Regions from separate parts of the Homo sapiens genome. Here all the other regions are linked to region 2. The links are contacts of gene promoters, found by promoter capture Hi-C in blood cells and fetal thymus (Javierre and others, 2016). All regions are on one chromosome and are shown on one strand. Each heading gives the region's core, a stretch centred on a gene start or on the middle of the fragment in contact. The rest is flanking DNA. Distances are from core to core; before and after follow the strand shown. Region 1 overlaps TSNAX (translin associated factor X). Region 2 holds the start of EGLN1 (egl-9 family hypoxia inducible factor 1). Region 3 overlaps DISC1 (DISC1 scaffold protein). Region 4 overlaps TSNAX-DISC1 (TSNAX-DISC1 readthrough (NMD candidate)). Region 5 overlaps TSNAX-DISC1 (TSNAX-DISC1 readthrough (NMD candidate)). Region 6 overlaps DISC1 (DISC1 scaffold protein). Region 7 overlaps TSNAX-DISC1 (TSNAX-DISC1 readthrough (NMD candidate)).

Evidence for each region. Contacts are between HindIII fragments. The CHiCAGO score rates a contact against its expected background, and 5 or more counts as called.
Region 1: a contact is called between a fragment that was not itself captured here and the fragment with the promoter of EGLN1 in region 2, in 13 of 17 cell types (total CD8 T cells, naive CD8 T cells, naive CD4 T cells and 10 more). The highest score is 10.8, in total CD8 T cells.
Region 3: a contact is called between a fragment that was not itself captured here and the fragment with the promoter of EGLN1 in region 2, in 1 of 17 cell types (total B cells). The highest score is 5.1, in total B cells.
Region 4: a contact is called between a fragment that was not itself captured here and the fragment with the promoter of EGLN1 in region 2, in 16 of 17 cell types (megakaryocytes, endothelial precursors, naive CD8 T cells and 13 more). The highest score is 13.0, in megakaryocytes.
Region 5: a fragment that was not itself captured here is called in contact with the fragment with the promoter of EGLN1 in region 2 in 12 of 17 cell types (naive CD4 T cells, total CD8 T cells, non-activated CD4 T cells and 9 more); the score reaches 11.5 in naive CD4 T cells.
Region 6: a fragment that was not itself captured here is called in contact with the fragment with the promoter of EGLN1 in region 2 in 4 of 17 cell types (neutrophils, non-activated CD4 T cells, activated CD4 T cells and 1 more); the score reaches 6.2 in neutrophils.
Region 7: a fragment that was not itself captured here is called in contact with the fragment with the promoter of EGLN1 in region 2 in 14 of 17 cell types (naive CD8 T cells, neutrophils, total CD8 T cells and 11 more); the score reaches 10.5 in naive CD8 T cells.

What each region holds. Positions count from the first base shown.
Region 1 is chr1:231,555,576-231,558,275 of GRCh38, forward strand. The region is part of intron 4 of TSNAX (translin associated factor X); the gene reads left to right. The region is part of intron 4 of TSNAX-DISC1 (TSNAX-DISC1 readthrough (NMD candidate)); the gene reads left to right. Among named protein-coding and RNA genes, the nearest start is that of TSNAX, 28 kb to the left of the region's middle. The HindIII fragment of the contact is 3,130 bases long and covers 1-2,700 here.
Region 2 is chr1:231,420,896-231,423,595 of GRCh38, forward strand. It overlaps EGLN1 (egl-9 family hypoxia inducible factor 1), which reads right to left and starts at 1,392. Exons shown (of 5, transcript NM_022051.3): 1 at 103-1,392. The coding sequence starts at 993. RefSeq lists an enhancer at 1-217 and silencers at 598-1,777, 1,533-1,857. The HindIII fragment of the contact is 5,790 bases long and covers 1-2,700 here.
Region 3 is chr1:231,653,100-231,655,799 of GRCh38, forward strand. The region is part of intron 1 of DISC1 (DISC1 scaffold protein); the gene reads left to right. All of the region lies in intron 5 of TSNAX-DISC1 (TSNAX-DISC1 readthrough (NMD candidate)), which reads left to right. Among named protein-coding and RNA genes, the nearest start is that of DISC1, 28 kb to the left of the region's middle. The HindIII fragment of the contact is 203 bases long and covers 1,282-1,484 here.
Region 4 is chr1:231,577,064-231,579,763 of GRCh38, forward strand. The region is part of intron 4 of TSNAX-DISC1 (TSNAX-DISC1 readthrough (NMD candidate)); the gene reads left to right. Among named protein-coding and RNA genes, the nearest start is that of LINC00582, 34 kb to the right of the region's middle. The HindIII fragment of the contact is 958 bases long and covers 850-1,807 here.
Region 5 is chr1:231,615,439-231,618,160 of GRCh38, forward strand. TSNAX-DISC1 (TSNAX-DISC1 readthrough (NMD candidate)) reads left to right here. Exons shown (of 16, transcript NR_028393.1): 5 at 1,206-1,468. Among named protein-coding and RNA genes, the nearest start is that of LINC00582, 4.7 kb to the left of the region's middle. RefSeq lists a silencer at 2,511-2,711. The HindIII fragment of the contact is 279 bases long and covers 1,328-1,606 here.
Region 6 is chr1:231,635,507-231,638,208 of GRCh38, forward strand. All of the region lies in intron 1 of DISC1 (DISC1 scaffold protein), which reads left to right. All of the region lies in intron 5 of TSNAX-DISC1 (TSNAX-DISC1 readthrough (NMD candidate)), which reads left to right. Among named protein-coding and RNA genes, the nearest start is that of DISC1, 10 kb to the left of the region's middle. The HindIII fragment of the contact is 3,046 bases long and covers 1-2,702 here.
Region 7 is chr1:231,594,689-231,597,388 of GRCh38, forward strand. All of the region lies in intron 4 of TSNAX-DISC1 (TSNAX-DISC1 readthrough (NMD candidate)), which reads left to right. The region is part of intron 1 of LINC00582 (long intergenic non-protein coding RNA 582); the gene reads right to left. Among named protein-coding and RNA genes, the nearest start is that of LINC00582, 16 kb to the right of the region's middle. The HindIII fragment of the contact is 5,790 bases long and covers 1-2,700 here.

The sequences.
Region 1 (2,700 bases), core at 5-2,504, 130 kb after region 2:
TTTTACCACAATTAAACGGAGAAAAAATAAAAATGAAACTGCTAATTTTTAAAAAAATCAAACGAATTCTAACCACTTCAGCTCTTTAAGCAAGATGCCATAATTCATTTTGTTGGGAGTAAATATTGCTTACTGTATTGCAGTATTTGGCTTACAGAGATGATTGGAGTAAAAGCACATCTTAAGAGTTTGCTCCTGCTCAAGGAAAGACTGAAATTCCTGTTTTCCTAGGTCCTCTGTGATAATTAAGGATTTTGTCCCAGGGTAGATGTCCATTTGTAGAATAGAGTCCTTAAGGAGTTTTTGGACATGCAAGAGTAGAAATGGAGCTAAGTTGAGGGGAGGAACCAAAGAGCCTTGGATAATGAAAGATGAATAATTTTAAATTTCATAGTTGCACAATGGAAGAGGGGAAAGAAAAGCAATAGACAATCAAAAAGCAAAGTACTATTTTTAAAACTACTCCTGCTTCTGAATGAATGTTATTGAACAAAGATGACAATTACGGAGACAATGATATGGTAAAATATCATGCATTTGTCCATGGAAGAAAAAAGTTTGTTCACCTTCATTAGTTGTAAAAAGTTGTTTTGTCCGTGAGTCAATTCAAAACATGGAAAATGGTTTTAGTGAATTTATTTTTAAAAATAATTTGTAATTAGTAAAATCAACTAGGTACAACTAAATGCCAGGCCTGGGCCTCAGTTGTAAAAGTACTAGATGCCATGATCTTGATGGTACTTTTAAAATTTGGAATATTTTGAACTATTCTTCCACTGAAATATGAAAAAAAAAGTACTTGAATGAAACTAAACTATATGGCAGCCAAACAGAAATGCTATTTGTTTCTGCAACAAGGCACTGCTGAATGATACAGAATATTAGTAGTATGTTGTTGCTAAAGTGTTTGTGGTCTTATCAACAGCTACATATGAAATAATACTAAATTTAACAAATAGGATCGACAGTGTTACATTGGGCGAGATGGAGAGAATAACAGCCCCCTTTCCATGTAAGGCTGCTTATCCTGTTTGTTGAATTTAATATTATTCAAGGCTCAGGAAAATATGTGTGTATTGCCTTCAACTGACATAGTTCTACTTTTTATACTGTCTCCCTACCTACCTATTGCCATGTATAAGACAGGCACCTTGCCAGTTGTGTTTGATTCTGACCATTTAAAGCAGTGCTATTTTTTGCTCAACATGCATACAGATATATGTTTATGTACCCATCTTGGAAATGCAAGCCTTTGTGAGTTATGACTTAACTATAGCATGAATTGAGGCTGATAATGTAAGTGGGGGTGAAATTAAGCATGGTCTTATAAGCCACGTTAATGGTTTTGCCCTGTATTCTGAGCGCCATGGGAAGCTATTTGGGCTTTAAACTGGGGAATGATGTCGTTAACATATTAAAAAGGCAGACAGTCTGCAGTGTGAGAATGGATGTGAAGAGGTCAAGAATAGATGGGGGGAGACCAGGACATGCTTAGAATTGGCAAAACTTGAGAGAACCAGGTTTGGAAGGAAGGTAGTGAGTTCATTGTTGGAAGTGTTGATTTTGAGGTATCTTTGGTAAGGATGTCAGATACTCATTTGGATGTGAGTGCCTGTTGGCCAGAGATGTGAAGTTTAAGGGCAGCAAGGTTACTTGAAACCAAGTATAGATGAACTGGAGGGAACCTAGGACTGATAGAGGCAGAGACTTAAGAAGACATGACTAGAGAGGTGGAAAAGTGGGAAATCAGGAGATGATGCTGTCAAAGGAATCAAAGGAAAACTTGTTCAAAGAGGGGAAGTGGCACAAAATGCTGAATGCTGCCGAGATGAAGACGGAAAGAATGTCCATTAGTCTTATTTATTATGGTAATCTTAGCAAGAACTATTTTGTTTTAGAGATGTACCCAAGCTAGATTGAAGTAGGTTGAGAAGTGTGAGATGAAGTTATTGAGGAAATGATGTAGCCAGCTACTTCAAGAAACTTAGCTCTGAGGAGGAGGAGACAGATGGAGCAATAGTTGAGAGGAAATATAGGGTTCATGGATAGGACAGATCTGAGTGTGTTTCAGTATTTCTGTAAGATTCAGTATAGAACATAAAGTGAGAACACCTAGTATGTTAAAGGGAGAATTCATGTGAAGCTCCCAGCTGGTACTGAATCTTGATCCTGAACCTAATACAGTGACTAGCCACAGAAAATGGAACACCTTCTCTAGGTAGTAGGGCTGAAGGAGAAGTAATACCATTATTTATTTTCCTAATTCCTTATTGTATTCATCAGGCTCCAAACAGGAAACAGAAATTAGATGGTAATATGAACAGGGAAAGTTAAATACAACATACAGACTTATTAACCATATAGGGGATTATAAGAGTAAAAGAGAACTCTAAAGAGTACTGGAATCTCAGATAGAGTGAGCAGCCACTACCCCTAGGGCGGAGGCAGAGCACCCAAGGAACTAAATTTGGCAGAACCCAACCCTCACCCTTCACAGGATGAGGTCCAGACCATGCTGGAGAGGGTGGGCATGTCCCATCGGCTGGCAGAGACATTTGCTGAGCTGTTGTGCTGATGGACTCTCTGGGAAGCTGTCCATGGGGAAATGCCATGGAAAGGAATTCCCTGCCCAAGGAGGTGGCTTACTGGGAAGCCATTCTCTGGAGTACAAAAGAAGCTGTCCCCAGGCAGGTGCTACAT
Region 2 (2,700 bases), core at 142-2,641:
ATATAGAGGAATGCTGCTTCTCAGCCTAGGCAGTTTCAGTCGCAGGCAGGGGCTGCCCGCCGAGAAGGGCCTGTCCAGCACAAACCCGCAGCACACACTTACTTTCGTCCGGCCATTGATTTTGTAGCTGCCCAGCTTCCCGTTACAGTGGCGTATCAGGTCGTCCATGCTGCTCATGAGCAGCCCAATGGTTTCGCAGCCGGGCTCCTTGCCCTCGATCCAGGTGATCTTATCGCCTCGGATGTCCTTGGACGAGTCACTCTTCTGGCTGACCAGCTGCCCGTCCGTGAACTTCCCGGTGTCGTGCAGGGCGCGCACCTCGTCGCCGATCTGCTGTCCGGTCTCCTTGCCGAGGAAGTCGTCCACCACACAGATGCCGTGCTTGTTCATGCACGGCACGATGTACTCGAGCGCCAGCTTCAGCGCCGGCAGGGGCTTCGTCTGCCCGTTGGGCCGCAGGCCGCCGCCGGGGCTCAGCGCATCCCCGGGCGTGTTGCTTGGGGGGTACAGGTTCGCCTTCTCCTGGAACAGCGATGAGCGGGCCGGCGGCTCCTCCTTGCCGGGCTCGGCTTCGGCAGCCACCGCCGAGCCCTGGCCGCCGGCGGCCGCACGACACGGCGACGCGGCCGCCGCTGGGTCGGCCGGGGGCTTGGCCTTTACTTTTCCCTTGGCCGCGTCCCCGGAGGCGTTGTCCCGGCGCGCCGCTGCCTTCCTGGGCTCCCGGGCCCCGGCCCTGGGCGGCGGCACTGCAGCCGGCGGCGCGGGGCCGGAATGCTGGTGTGGGCCCACTCCGTGGCCGAGGGCGCCCTCGCTGCCCTGGCACACGAGCTTGTGCTTCTTCCAGTCCTGACGCTGGTGCTCCTTGCAGCAGTAGAAGGAGCTGCGGCAGCGGCTGCAGCGCAGCAGGTTCTCCATCTTCCCGCACAGCTCGCAGTACTGCCGGTCTCGCTCGCTCGGGCTCGGCCCGCCGGGCCCGCCGCTGTCATTGGCCATGGCGGCGGCGGCGGCGGCGACGGCGACTGCGGCGGCCGAGCAGGAGGGGTAGCGGCCGGACGGCCTCGCCCGAGGCTGGGGAGCGGGGAGAGAGATAGGGGCCGTTACTGCGCCATGCACCCGCTACCCTCGCCTCAGGGAGGCCGGCACCCCACGCCCTCGGCCCGGCCGCTTCCGAGTCCTAAGCTCCGGCGCAGCGCCGGCAGCCGCCTCAGCGCCTCATCGCCGCCGAGGGCTGAGAGAATAGGGCCTGTGCGGCGAATGGCAACCTGGGCTCAGGCGCGCGGGCCTGGGGAGCGCAAGACCGGCCCCCTCGGCCGCCGCCGCCGCCTCAGCGTCCCGGGCGGCCCGGCCCAGGCTGTGGAGGAGCGCAGGGCATACGGGCGCCACTCGCTCTGCGCGCTCTGCACGTACACCACGGCCCCGCGGCGACCCGGGCGGGCGGCGCGCGAGGGCGGAGGGGGCGGAGGGAGGGCCGGGAGGGCCGGGGGGAGGGCCGAGGGGCGGGGGCTGCCTGCGCTCCTCCGCACTCGGCGGGGCCGGGCCTCGGCTTCTGCCTCGGAGGTGGGTCGCCCGCTTTCCCTCCGCCCGGGACCGGACTGGGACGCCGAGAGGCCGGTGCGCTACCTCAGCCCGCAGCGGCCTCCTCGGGGACGCCGAGGCGCAGGCCCGCGAGCGGCGGAAAGGCGTGGGGCAGCGCGGCAGCGCCTACACCTGCTGGAGGAGGGCGCCAGCCGCAAGCGGGTAGCGGAGCGAAGGCGGCGTAATCATGGCTGCTCTTCCTCCAGGCCGGCGCGGGGTGTGCGAGGCTCGCTCCAGTCAAGGTTGCAAGGTGGCTATTGCGATCCTCATTTTGCAGAGGAGGAAACGGAAATTCAGAGAAGTAAAGTAACTTGCCCAAGGTCACGCAAAACTGGGACTGAATCCAGGAATCAGGCTCCCAGATTCCAAGGCTGTTTTTTCCATTACACCATACAGCCTCTATTTCAAGAAGCCCTGAAATGGTTAAGAACAAAATAAGTATTACTATGGTGTTAATCCAATCTCTTGCGCCCCGTTTCGACCTAGTTTAAAGGTAATGAAATTTGAGGGTTTTAAAAAAAATCAAAAACTCATTTTTAAAACCTTTGAAATCCCGCCGAGTTCAAAACCCCATGAAGAAATTTTGGGCTACCAAGTTAAATGTAATCAATGCTCATTCCAATATCCAATTTAAACTGATGGGATTATTCCTGAAAAGTGAATTTTGATGGTAAATGAGCAGTACTACATTAACGACTCTCACATTTATTTTTAATAGAATCTGTGCTGCGCGGATGAATACAATTCTTTGTTTTACAGAGCATAAAAACCTTACCAGAAATAAGCCAAAGATGTTTCTTTCTGCTGCTATTTGTCTTAAGAATTAAAAGGTCTGTGATTTCGAGTTTATCAATCTTTATCGAACACTATGTGGAAAGTGGGGTGCTAGGCTTGTGTATCACTTGAGTATACTGTAACTTCAGTCCTTGAAATATAGCCTTCCAAACTTAAAAAGTTGTAATATGTATTTCAAAAGCAGGATATAAGGAATTATTGTAAACCATATTGTAGAAGTTTAAAAAGAGGCTTGAATCCAAAAATATAAAACCTCTTCATCAAATATACAGAATTTAAAACTGTTATAAAATCCTGCTGCATGCGTAAATGGCATTCTGGGGATCCAAT
Region 3 (2,700 bases), core at 133-2,632, 230 kb after region 2:
TGCTGACACCATAATTTACTCATCCAGTTACATTAAATTGGAATGTTCATAGTTGTTGACCTTTAGAACATGCCAGTATTAAGTTTTTGTATTTAAGGTGATGCTAGTTCTAAAGCATATATTCTGAAATCTCAGTGGCTTAACACCTCAGAAGTTTATTTCTCCTTATGTAAAGTTTAGGTTCTCTCCATTTGCTGATGGTTACCTTGAGGTACCAGGCTTGCGTGGAGGGGCTGCTGTGCCTTGCATGGCCATGCAGGGACTCAGGCCCTCTCCAGCGTGTGGTTTGCAAGGTTGCCCTGGCCCTTGCTGCTTAGCTGGCTGATAGTGGAAGAGAAAGTGAAGAAGATGTCACAGGAGGTTTTAATGGATCAGAACTGGAAGTGGCAGATACTGCTTCTGCCCCCATTCCATTGGCCAGAATGTCACATGGCCATACAAAACTGCAAGGGAGGCTGGGAAATGCCACTCATCTGTGTGTGTGGGAGGAAAGGAAATACATTTGGTGAATACTAGCTAGTCTCTAACAGAGCTTCCCCTACTGTTTACCAAATTCCTGTTTTGCTTTTCCCCTCACACACAGAACACACCCCTCCCAGAGTGAGGGACCCTAAGTCCCATCCAGCCCTGGCACCTTGCTTAGTCACTGTTCAGGATCTCTGGGTGATGTGCTGTCTTCCCCATCACATCTAAATGAGGATCCTTGTGGTTTGATGACTTATGAACTAGAAGAGAATAAAGTTATTTGCCTCCTCCCTAGCGCCTCCCAATTTTCAATGAAGCAGGGAAGCATTGTAACATTAGAAGCTCCCATTTAGAACAGAGTAAAGAGCGGGCAGCACAGTCATCACAGGCCCAAAGCAACAATGGAATCCAGTTGGGTGGGCAAGGTGGAGGTTCTCAACCAGAGGGTGGGAGAACTTTCTTGATTAGACCTTGATTTTGCCAGAAAAGGCAATCTCTTCTCAGTTGGTCTCCATGGTCCGAGCTCTGTCCTGGCAAGTTCCTTCTTGCACTTTATTCTCAATGGCTACGTTTGAAGTGATTGCAGGGGAGTCCGCCATCTTAGGAGGGTACACAGCTTTGCAGCCCTCTAGTGCCCTGCTGTTGTTTCAAGGCTCAAATAGACAAACGTCTTTAAAAAATTTTATTTTTAGTCCAGGCTCATGGTTTCTTTGGCCATACATTTATGTCAAAAATTTGATAGGATTCTGTTTTTTTTTTAAATTAATTACTTTTATTTTTGACAAATAATTTACATATTTATGGGGTACAATGTGAAGCTTTCATATATTTATTCACTATGAAATGATTAAACCAAGCTAATTAACATATCCATCATTTCACGTGTGTGTGTGGTATGAAATTTTTGTGTGTGTGTGGTATGAAATTCTTAGCAATTTTGAAATATATTGCATTATTATTAACTATAGTCACCATGCTGTGGAATAAATCTTAAGAACTTATTCCTTCTGTCTAACTGAAGCTTTGTATACTTTGACTAACATCTTCCCATCCACTTCTACCCTTGCCCCAGCCCCTGCTAACCACCATTCTATTCTCTACTTCCGACTTTTTTTAGATTACACCTGTAACTGAGATCATGCAGTATTTTTCTTTCTGTGCTTGGATTACTTGTTTCTGTTCTGTTTTCTTCCCTTAAGTTTTTTATGCCAATAGCAAATCCCTAAGTTTTTTTCCTAGATATTATTACCAAGCTTGAATTATTATATTACTTTCTCACCCTAATACCCTTTTCTGTCAATGAGATGGTGACTTCCTTGAGGCCTTCAGGGTCAGATGGGAAGGCAAAATTCTTAATTAGCTCTTTGCTACAAGGCTGAATCTTTTACCTGTGTCACTCAAAAGCCTTTTCAATCTTGTTTCTTACTCCTCAGACTTTAGAAGCAGTCATTTCTTCCAAGGCTTTACACTCAGAAGTTTCTGGACAAACATCTGGACTCTATTCCCTTTCATTTTATGCTTGCAAACCAACAAATTCTTTTTTTAAAAAAGTATTTTAATAGCTTTAGGAGTACAAGTGGTTTTTGCTTACATGGATGAATGGTATAGTCCTGAAGTCTGAAATTTTAGTGTACCCAAGTTGCGTACATTGTGCCCAATATGTAACTTTTAAAGTCGCCCCTCCCACACTCCCCTATTCTGAGTCTCTAAAGTCCATTATATCACTTTGTGTGCCTTTGTGTATCCATAGCTTAGCTCCCATTTACCAATGAGAAAGTACAGTGTTTGGTTTTCCACTCCTGAGTTAGTTCACTTAGAATAATGGCATTCAGTTCCATCTGAGTTGCTGTAAAATACATTATTTCATTCTTTTTTATGGCTAACTAGTATTCCATGGTGTATATATACCACATTTTCTTCATCCACTCATTGATTGATGGGCACTTAGGTTGGTTCCATAGCTTTGCAATTGTGAATTGTGCTGTGATAATCATATGCATGCAGGTGTCTTTTTGATGTAATGACTTCTTTTCCTTTGGGTACCTAGTCCAGTAGTGGGATTGCTGGATTGAATGGTAGATCTACTTTTAGTTCTTTGAGAAATCTCCATACTGTTTTCCATAGAGGTTATACTGATTTATGTTACCACCAGAAGTATATAAGCTTTTCCTTTTCACCATATCCATGCCAACATCTCTTGTTTTTTGACTTTTTAATAAAGGGCCATTCTGTTTG
Region 4 (2,700 bases), core at 79-2,578, 160 kb after region 2:
GCTCTTTCCTCCAGATATCTGCACAATAATTCCCTCATCTCTTTTAAGTTTGTGCTGTGTCACCTACTTAATAATGCCTACTTTGATCTTCTAATTTAAATTGTCACTGGCCACCCACTCCCCACCCCACTACTGCCTTACGTATTTGCAGAGGGTGGCATTTACATAGAACATAATATGAATGGTATCCTTGAAGTTGTGGAAAGTAGCTTTCCTGTATTACGTAAGTAATACGTACCATACGTATGTATTAGGCTTATTGTTTGTCTTCTTTAATTAATATGTAACCTCGCCAAGGAGAGGAATGTTTGTCTTTTTTACTCACTGGTGTATCCCAAACATGTTGAATGGTCCCTGGCATATGCGTGCCTAGTGAGTATTTGTAGAATAAATAGACAATTAGATTATGTCCAAGTTATTTATTTATTTATTTATTTATTCATTTATTTATTTATTTTTTGAGACAGAGTCTCGCTCTTTCGCCCAGGCTGGAATGAAGTGGTGTGGTGTGATCTCAACTCACTGCAACCTCTGTCCCCCGGGTTCAAGTGATTCTCCTGCTTCAGCCTCCCAAGTAGCTGGGATTTCAGGCACCTGCCACCATGCTCGGCTAATTTTTTTTTTTTTTTTTTTGGTATTTTTAGTAGAGGTGGGGTTTCACCATGTTGGCCAGGCTGGTCTTGAATTCCTGACCTCAGATGACCCACCCGCCTCAGCCTCCCAAAGTGCTAGGATTACAGGTGTGAGCCACCATGGCTGGCCCAAGTTTTTGATACTATAAACAATACTGAAGTGAGTATCTGTGATGGTTAATTTTATGTGTCCACTTGACTGGATTACGGGCACCCAAGCTTTTGACCAAACATTACTCTGGGTGTGCCTGTGAGGGTGTTCCCAGATGAGATTAGCATTTGGATTGGCAGACTGAATACAGCAGATTGCCCTTCCTAATGTGGGTGGACCTCAGCTCATCAATCGAAGACCCGAATAGAACACAAAAGCTAAGTAAGAGGGAACTCCTCTTCTCTGGCTGCTTGAGACATTGGTCTTTTCTGGCCTTAAGACTCAGACTGGCCGGGCGTGGTGGCTCATGCCTGTAATCCCCACACTTTGGGAGGCTGAGGCAGGTGGATCCCCTGAGGTCAGGAATTCAAGACCAGCCTGGCCAACATGGTGAAACCCCATCTCTACTAAAAATACAAAAAATAGCTGGGCGTGGTGGCGGGTACCTGTAATCCCAGCTACTTTGGGAGGCTGAGGCAGGAGAATCACCTGAACCTGGGAGGCAGAAATTGCAGTGAGCCAAGATCACACCATTGTACTCCAGCTTGGGCAACAAGAGCAAAACTCTGCCTCAAAAAACAAACAAACAAAAAAACTCAGACTGAAACATCAGCTCCTGGGTCTGGAGCCTCGTGGCTTTTAGTATTAATAACATCAGCTATTCTGGTTCTCAGGCCTTTGGACTTGAACAATGGTTCTCCTGGGTCTCCAGCCTGCCACCTGCCTATCTTGGGACTTCTCAACCTCTGTAATCCTGTGAGCCAATTCCTTATAATTAAACACACACACACACACACACACACACACACACACTCTCTCTCTCTCTCTCTCTCTCTCTCTCTCTATTGGTTCTGGTTCTGTTTCTCTGGAGAACTCTGGGTAATACAATATCTTTGGCTTATCTCCTTGTGTACCTATGTAAGAATTTCTCTAGGAAGATTATGAAGGAGTGAAGTTGCTTGGTCTTAGGGGTATACGTATGTTCCACTTTATTAGATATTGCCAAAGTGCTTTTACCAATCTAAGCTTTCTTCTACAACTGTCTAATAGTTTATGTTTCCACATAATTTTGTGAGTCCTGATGGTCAATCTAATGGATTTTTAATGGTTTTTTTTTTTTTTTTGGGAAACAGGGTCTCGCTCTGTTGCCCAGGCTGGAGCGCAGTGGTGTGATCATAGCTCACTGCAGTCTCAGACTCCTGGGCTCAAGCCATCCTCCTGCCTCTACCTACCTAGTAGCTGGGACTATAGGCACAGGCCACTGTGCCTGGCTAATTTTCTTATTTTTTATAGAGATGAAGTCTCACCATGTTGCCCAGGCTAGTCTTGAACTCGTGACGTCAAGTGATCCTCCCGCCTTGGCCTCCCAAAGTGTTGGAATTATGGACTCGAGCCACCACATTTGGCTGACAGTATCGCTTAATTTTTAATTTTCCTACTGCTACTAATTTTACCTATATGAGATCGCATTTTTGTGAGCTAAAACTATCAAGTATTGGCAATTTAATGAGGTTTAATCTAATAGTGAATATCTTTACAATGAAAACTTTTGCCACCCAGATTTTGTCTATATATTACTTGCCCTTATATTCTTGACATTTTTCTATTAGATTGTCTTTCTCCAAACTGCTCTTTCCCCCTTCTCTCCTTTTTGTAGTTCTTTACTGATAGCTTCTCCTGGTCTATGGTTGAGAGTATGTTGTCCTTTTTATAGAGAAATTTTGATGCCACCAAAATTTGGACACCAGTATCCATTACCTGCCACTCTCAATTACCCTTAACCGCCCCCCACCCCCGTGGCCTTAGGCAACAACTAATCGACTTTCTATATGTACATATTTGCCTGTTATGGACATTTCATGTAATGGAATCATAAAATTCCATTCTTTCAATTACTGGGTTCCTGCCATTCTCCTG
Region 5 (2,722 bases), core at 217-2,716, 190 kb after region 2:
TTTTCTTTTCTTTTCTGTCTTTTTTTTTTTGACAGAGTTTTGCTCTTGTTGCCAGGCTGGAGTGCAGTGGCACGATCTTGGCTCACTGCAACCTCCGCCTCGCGGGTTCAAGCAATTCTCCTGCCACAGCCTTCCTAGTAGCTGGGATTACAGGTGTCTGCCACCACGTCCAGCTAATTTTTGTATTTTTAGTAGAGACGGGGTTTCACTATGTTGGCCAGGCTGGTCTCGAACTCTGGACCTCAGGTGATCCACCCACCTCGGCCTCCCAAAGTGCTGAGATTACAGGCATGAGCCACCATGCCCAGCCCTCATATTTCTTTTAAAATAAATTATATACATTATTTTAAATTGTAAAAATCCAAAAAGCCAAAAATTTTTAAAAGAATGAGATAAACAGTATCTTTCAAATAATGAAAAAAAAATGGTATATAATGTTAGATTTAGGCTTGGCTTCATATAAGAAAAAACAACTAATGGTGGCATAAACAAGGTAACAATTTTTCTCTGTCCCATAAAGGAAATCTAAAGGAAGGCAATCCAGCAGGGATATGGCAACCCCACAAAGTTGTCATGGAACCAGACTAATTCCAGTTATCTGCTTTGCCATTACTAAGCTGTGGCTTTGTCTTCAAGGTTCAAGATGGCGTCTAGAGCTCCAGCCATTGTATCCATAGTCCCAGATGCCTGATGAATGAAAGAAAAGTCTCCTCTTCCCCTTTAAGATTTCTTTAAGTCCCATAAAACATTTTGAAACCAGATTGGAAGTCTTTTAACCTTCTGATTCCAACCTAGAGCAAGGAAATCCCCCAAGGAGTGCTCTACCATGTGAAATCTTCTCTTCCCCATGTTGTCATGATCCTGCCCTCATGTGCTCTGACTATTGCCAAGCCTTGGATTTCATTTCTGGAATAATGCCTTGCTCAATATTAGAACCACTTTAGTTAGGATTTGGGGGAGGCAGCATGATTGAAGAACGTGAGTGCTGTTGACGACAGTATTGTTGGTGAAAGCAGCTCCAGTTCCACAACTTACGATCTGAGACATCGTGTGGCCATTCATGTACAGGCTTTCAGAACTGAGAGAACTTTGGTAGACTAATCAAGATGAGATAGGTTATCCGGTGGCAACAAAGATACCTACGTCTCAGTAGCTTAATTCAATGTATGCTTCCTTTTCTCTTGTTCATGTTTTATGTTTTATAGAAGTTTACAGGCAAGATCCTACTCACAGAGGCTCTTGGGATCAAGGCTGACAGAAGCTCCATCTGAAGACTTTTATACTATAGAGGCAGAAAAAGAGTGATGAATCAAGCACTGGCTTCTAAAGCTTCCGCCCAGATGGGAAGCATATCTCCTCTGCTCACATTTCCCTGACCAAAGCCAGTCACATGGCCATCCTCAGCTTCAGAGAGGTTGGGAAGGCATTCCCACTATGTGTCTGGATGCCAGCAACTCAGAAATATTTGGTGAGTGCCTCTGTGGCTACTGGTAGTTTAGTTCTTATGCCTATGTTCCAGTTTTGTCCTCTGAAAGGCCAAATCTGAAATTCAAAATCTTACAAACAGGTTTATACTTGAAAACGGGTAAACATTCTCATAACATAAAGCTTAATAATATTCATGAGCTTATTTTTGCAAACTCTGCATCACACCGAAAAGAGAAGTTCTCTGGCTTCCTCAGCTCAGGGGCTGTCTCATTACTTGGTCCCTAAGACCACAGCTGGGGACTGGTTCTACCTACTATGGAAGTTTCACCAGCCAGGACAAAATAAAAAAGAAAGGAAAAACCAGGATAAATGAGCTTTTGAGAAAGCAAAATTCACTGTTTTTAAGGAACTGTCCTAGCTTCTATCACATATGTATTATTTTTTTGAGGTTAAAAGAAGGCTTTTCTATATGAAATAGTGGCGATGGTAGTTGGTAGAAGTTTTTTTTTTTTAAAGAAATGTATGGCTGGGTGCGGTGGCTCACGCCTGTAATCCCAGCGCTTTGGGAGGCTCAGGCAGGCAGATCACCCGAGGTCAGGAGTTCAAGACCAGCCTGGCCAACATGGTGAAACCCTGTCTCTACTAAAAATACAAAATTAGCTGGGGATGGTGGCGTGTGCCTGTAGTCCCAGCTACTCGGGAGGCTGAAGCAGGAAAATTGCTTGAACTCAGGAGGTAGAGGTTGCAGTGAGCCGAGATTGAGCCATTGCACTCCAGCCTGGGCAAAAAAGAGCAAAACTCTATCTTAAAAAAAAAAAAAAGTAAATTTACTTGGCAAAATAAAATGTTAGTGTCATTATATATCTCACCTTCTTGTTTTTTCTTAAATTTTTAGCAACCAGCCATGAAACAAAAGTTTAAAAGCCACTCATCTGGTTTCCCCTTTGTTTTCAAAGAAGGAAGCTAGAAAATTAAGTGATGTATCCCCAAACACACACATTTAATTGGAGAAAGAACCCCTAATCAATTCTTGAATTCAAATTTCAAATTAGCTGAATGGCATGAACCTTTCTTCCCCTGGAATAGCCTTACAGAGACCTCACCATTAACAGCATCTGCAAGAGAAGATTAAAGCACACGATTACTTTACTCACTGTGTAACACATGAGGAACATGGACGAGATGGGAAAAAGGTGAGTGGCTTAACGTCAAGCACTTCATTAATGAGATGAACTCCTGACTTTGGACAGTGGTCCACTTACAGACGCTGTCTTTGAAACTGCCTGCAGAGCCT
Region 6 (2,702 bases), core at 38-2,537, 210 kb after region 2:
AACCTGTTTTTCTGACTCCAATGTAGACTTCTTCAACTCAAGGTTTCAGTTCTGGTTTATCTCCTTACTCCCTCATCTATGTAGTACACTTATGGTTTACTCTGTTCTCACTGGATTAGACCAAACTCTTAATTATATTTAGGATGTATTAATCCAATGCATAGATTAACCAAGTCTATTATTTTTATATCTTTTGAAACCAATCAGGAGTTTCAGAAGTTCAGTTCAGTTTAAATATTTATTGAGATGCATACACTATATAGTCAGATACTATGATAGCTCTTGAATATAAAAAATATATATACTTATGTTTGTATATATATGTGTAAATTGATATGTAAATTCAAATAGATAGTGTTGTCTACACCATTGAGAAGCCTATAGTCCCGTGGAAAAAAGAGAATTCATTCTCATGAAGTTTCCGGATATTGTTTCATCAGAAGGACTGGGCACATCGGGGTGTACTAAAATCATTAAGAAGTATTTAGCACCAGTAGATGCCTAATAAATACCTTACAGTCTAGATGGATGGATAGATGGAGGAAGAAAGAAGGGCTCCTTTAATTTATAATTTACCTATTGCTGGGTTTACTCCTAGGTATGACAATTTTGAAAACAATTTACTCAATGTTTATTTCCACACTGTGTATGAAATATGCTGCTCTTCATTCAGAAAGAGATATATAATTCTCCATTTGTAGAACACTGAGTTAATTTCATGGTTGTGATGTTGCTTTTGCTTACTTTCACCCACATTTTCTCCTCTGTAGGGTGGCAGCTCCGTAGGGTGGACACACGCTTTGGGAGACCTGCAGCTGTTTGTGTCTGGGGGCAATGGTGAAGGGCAGTGACTCATTGGCCCAGAACTCATGATCTCATCTCTCACCCAGCTGGCTAATCGGCCTTGGGGACAGGAGGATGAGCGCTGCACTCCCTCCTAATCATGCAGCTTTTGTATGTCTTTCTTTACTTGACTTAAATTGTAATTTGAATGGAAAAATGGACAAATTCTATCATTTGAATTTAACTTTTATATATTTTCTTGACTCTGATTTGGGATTATCTAAGTGCATTTATTCAAATATTTATTGTGTTTTTGAAACTTTTTTTGAAAAGCATAAGGTAATACATGATAAAAGATATTGTTATTACCCCTGTTTCTGCCATTTCAAGGAGTCAGAACAGGCTCAGTGGAAACAAAATGAGATGTCTTATGGGAGTTACTTTCCCTTCAGCTAATCTTGGTATGAATTTATATTGACACTACCTTTAAAATTTTATTCTGCTTTTTAAATTTTACTTTAAGTTCTGGGATACATGTGCAGAACATGCAGGTTTGTTACATAGGTATACATGTGCCATGGTGGTTTGCTGCACCTATCAACTTGTCATCTAGGTTTTAAGCCCCACATGCATTAGGTATTTGTCCTGATGCTCTCCCTCCCCTTGACCCCTACCCCCCAGCAGGCCCTGGTATGTGATGTTCCCCTCCCTGTGTCCATGTGTTCTCATTGTTCAATTCCCACTTATGAGTGAGAACATGGGGTGTTTGGTTTTCTGTTCCTGTGTTAGTTTGCTGAGAATGATGGTTTCCAGCTTCATCCATGTCCCTGCAAAGGACATGAACTCATCCTTTTTTATGGTTGCATAGTATTCCTTGGTGTATATGTGCCACATTTTCTTTACCCGGTCTATCATTGATGGGCATTTGGGTTGGTTCTAAGTCTTTGCTATTGTACATAGTGCTGCAGTAAACATACGTGTGCATGTATCTTTATAGTAGAATGATTTACAAGCCTTTGGGTATACACCCAGTAATGGGATTGCTCGGTCAAATGATTAGTTTTTTATTTATATAAATTTATGGGGTACAGTGCAATTTCATTACATGCATAGTTTGCCTAATGGTCAAGTCGGGGCTTTTAGGATGTCCATCACCCAAATAATGTACATTGTACCCATTGAGTAATTTCTCATCCTTCACTCCTCCTATCCTCACCCTTCTGAGTCTCCATTGTCTGTTATTCCACTTTCTACATCCACGTGTGGACATGATTTAGCTCCCACTTGTAGGTGAGACCATGTGATATTTGTGTTTCTGTGTCTGACTTGTTTCATTTAAGATAACGGTTTCCAGTTCCATCGATGTTGTTGGAAAAGGCATGAGTTCATTTTGTATGGCTGAATAGTTTTCCCTTTTGTATGTATACCGTATTTTCTTTATCCAGTTCTCTGTTGATGAACATCTAGGTTGATTCCATATCTTTGCTGTTGTGAATATTGCTGTGATAAACATGTGAGTCCAGGTATTTTTCTGATACATTGATTTATTTTCCTTTGGGTAGATACACAATAGTAGGATTGCTATATTAAATGGTAGTTTTATTTTTAGTTCTTTGAGAAATCTCCATACTTTTTTCCATAGAGATTTTAATAATTTACATTCTCACCAATAGTGTTTAAAATTTCCCTTTTCACTTTTCACTGCATTCTCTTCAATATCTGTTATTTTTTGACTTTTTAATAATGGCCATTCTGACTGGCATAAGATGACATCTCATTGTGGTTTCAATTTGCATTTCTTTGATTAGTAGTAATGTTGAACATGTTTTCCATTTGTATGTCTTCTTTTGAAAAATGTCTATTCATGTCCTTTTCACACTTTTTAATGGAATTATTTTGTTGTTGTTGTTGAATTGTTT
Region 7 (2,700 bases), core at 62-2,561, 170 kb after region 2:
CAATATTTCCTGTCCCCCAGAGTAGGCCCTTCACTTAATATGAGGTTCATTTATATTGTAGCTGTATCAGTACTTCATTGTTTTTATGGCTAAATAGTATTTCACTGAATGGATATGCCAGTTTTGAGTATCCATTCATCAGTGGAAAGACATTTGGATTGTGTCCACTTTTCAGCTGTCATGAGTTTTATGCTAGCTATAAACGTTTGTCTACAAGTTTTTATGTGGACATAGTTTCATTTCTTCTGGGTGTGTATCAAGGAATGGAATTGCTGGGTCACATGGTAACTTTATGTTAATATTTGGTTGTATTTTTGAGGAGCTGACTGGGACCAATCCATATCGAAAACCTTAACTAGGAAGTGCAGACAGGAGCCTCCAGAGGAAAACCTCCCCAGAGGGTTAAGACCTGTGCAGTGTTTAAAGTTAGAGGACTTTACAGCTGGGCGCGGTGGCTCACGCCTGTAATCCCAGCACTTTGGGAGGGCAAGGGGGGCAGATCACGAGGCCAGGAGTTCGAGACCAGCCTGGCCACCATGGTGAAACCCTGTCTCTACTAATAATACAAAAATTAGCCGGGCGTGGTGGCACGTGCCTGTAGTCCCAGGTACTTGGGAGGCTGAGGCAGAAGAATTGCCTGAACCTGGGAGGTGGAGGTTGCAGTGAGCTGAGATCGTGCCACTGCACTCCAGCCTGGGAGACAGAATGAGACTCCCTCTCAAAAAAAAAAAAAAAAAAAAGTTAGAGGACTTTGAATAGAGCCTAAGGTTATCTTTGGGTCTTGACCTAACAGAATGTTAGATGTGTTTCTTTTTGTGTGATATCAGTTGAGACACTAATGTGTAATGGACAACAAATACAAAAATGAGTGTTAAGACTGAACCCCACGTGGGCAAAACTTAGAAAGGGTCAGGGGTAAGGAGACGAGAACAGATGTTTGTACACCCATGTTCAGAGCAGCATTATTCACAATAGCTGAAAGGTAGAAGCATCTCAAGTGTCCACTGATGGTTGAATGAAAAAACAAAGTGTGGTCTCTCCACACAATGGAATATTATTCCATCCTGACACGTGCTATAACATGGATGAACCTTGAGGATATTGTACTCAGTAGAATAAGCCAGTCATAAAAAGAAATAATGTATGATTCCACTTACATGAGGTTCCTAGAGAAGTCAGATTCATAGAGACAGGAAGTTCAAATGGTAGGTGCCAGGGACTGGGAGTCGGGGGTGGGGGAGTTCATGTTAGAAACTCTGGGTACAGAGTTTCAGTGTGGGAGGATTAAAAGAATTTTGGAGATTGTTCGGCGGTTATAGTTGCACAGCAGTGTGAATATAGTTAATACAACCGAGCTATACATTTGAAAATGGTAAAAATGCTAAGTTTTATGTTGTATGTAATACCACATACAAAGTAATGAAAAAGAGGGGGATTCCAGTATAGTCAGAGGAGGCGTATTTGTCTCCAGACTCTCCTCTTCTCCTCCACTCCGCCCGTGGCTGGGGAAAGGGCTTCAGTAGGATTGTCCATGAGCTTGATTTGTGTTTGCTGAAGTTGGGGCACATTCAGAATGGGGTTGACACCTTAGGAAATGGAGGGGCTAAGAGGCAGGTTCACCAACCAGCAGTGAGGTCAGGAGCGTGCTGTTACCTCTGGAATATCAAGGCCAAGGTCTCTCAATATTTCCTGTCCCCCAGAGTAGGCCCCTCCGCGGGAGAGCTGGCGAGAGCAGTTTGTGAGTGCTGCCTGGGGAGCCACTGGGAAGGGTGGAGTCTGCAGCAGCATGAAGCCATGTGGAGTGCACAGTGGGGAAAAGCAGCCTGGGGGGTGGAATGTTTTGTTCAAAGCCTGAGAATTAGGTGAGAGGCCTCAGCAATTGGGTAATTAAAAAGAAAACAAAAGCCCATGAAATTGCTTCGTGGAAGTAAGAGTTTGCTTTCACTGTGTCAAGCCCAGAGTGCAGGGAGCCACCCAGCTAAGTAGAATCCATTGCCTCTCCCCAGGAAGGGCCCCAAACAGCAGCTAGTGGGAGAATGCAGAAGAGGAGAAGACGCCCACACCTTCTTCTCCAAAGCAGGCAGTCTTTAGACCTCACTTAGCCAAGAAGAGAAAGACTCTGAATGAGGACTGAATGGCTTGTTAGTATCTTGGACTGAACCTGTACAAGTTACTAAACCAATGCTGATTTTATGATCTTAACACTGTAGAACCATCCATTATCTAAGAGTGAATGCAGAAGTCATGAGATTTGCCCAAGTATCCATTCAGGGATAGAGGAAATTATCTCCATAATTATATTTTGAAGGCACCACAGGAGAATAAACAAAAACAAACAAACAAATAAAAGACAGTTATTGGCTTTGCTACAAAACTGGTTTAGTCAATATACAAATTGTACTCCCAGCCCTTTTCCCCCCCAGAATATCTTTATTTTTTTCTACATATGAACACTTTTTTCCCCAGTGTCTTTGTAAAGACTTTTATTTTTGTGGTCCACATGCTTTAACTTGTGTATGGAAATAATCTGGACCGAGTCAGCAATCGTGGGTTCTAGTCTGTGGTCTTCTTTATTTTATTTTAATTAATTAATTTTATTTATTTATTTATTTTTGAGACGGAGTCTTACTTTGTTGCCAGGCTGGAGTGCAGTGGCACGATCTTGGCTCACTGCAACCTCCACCTCCTGGGTTCAAGCAA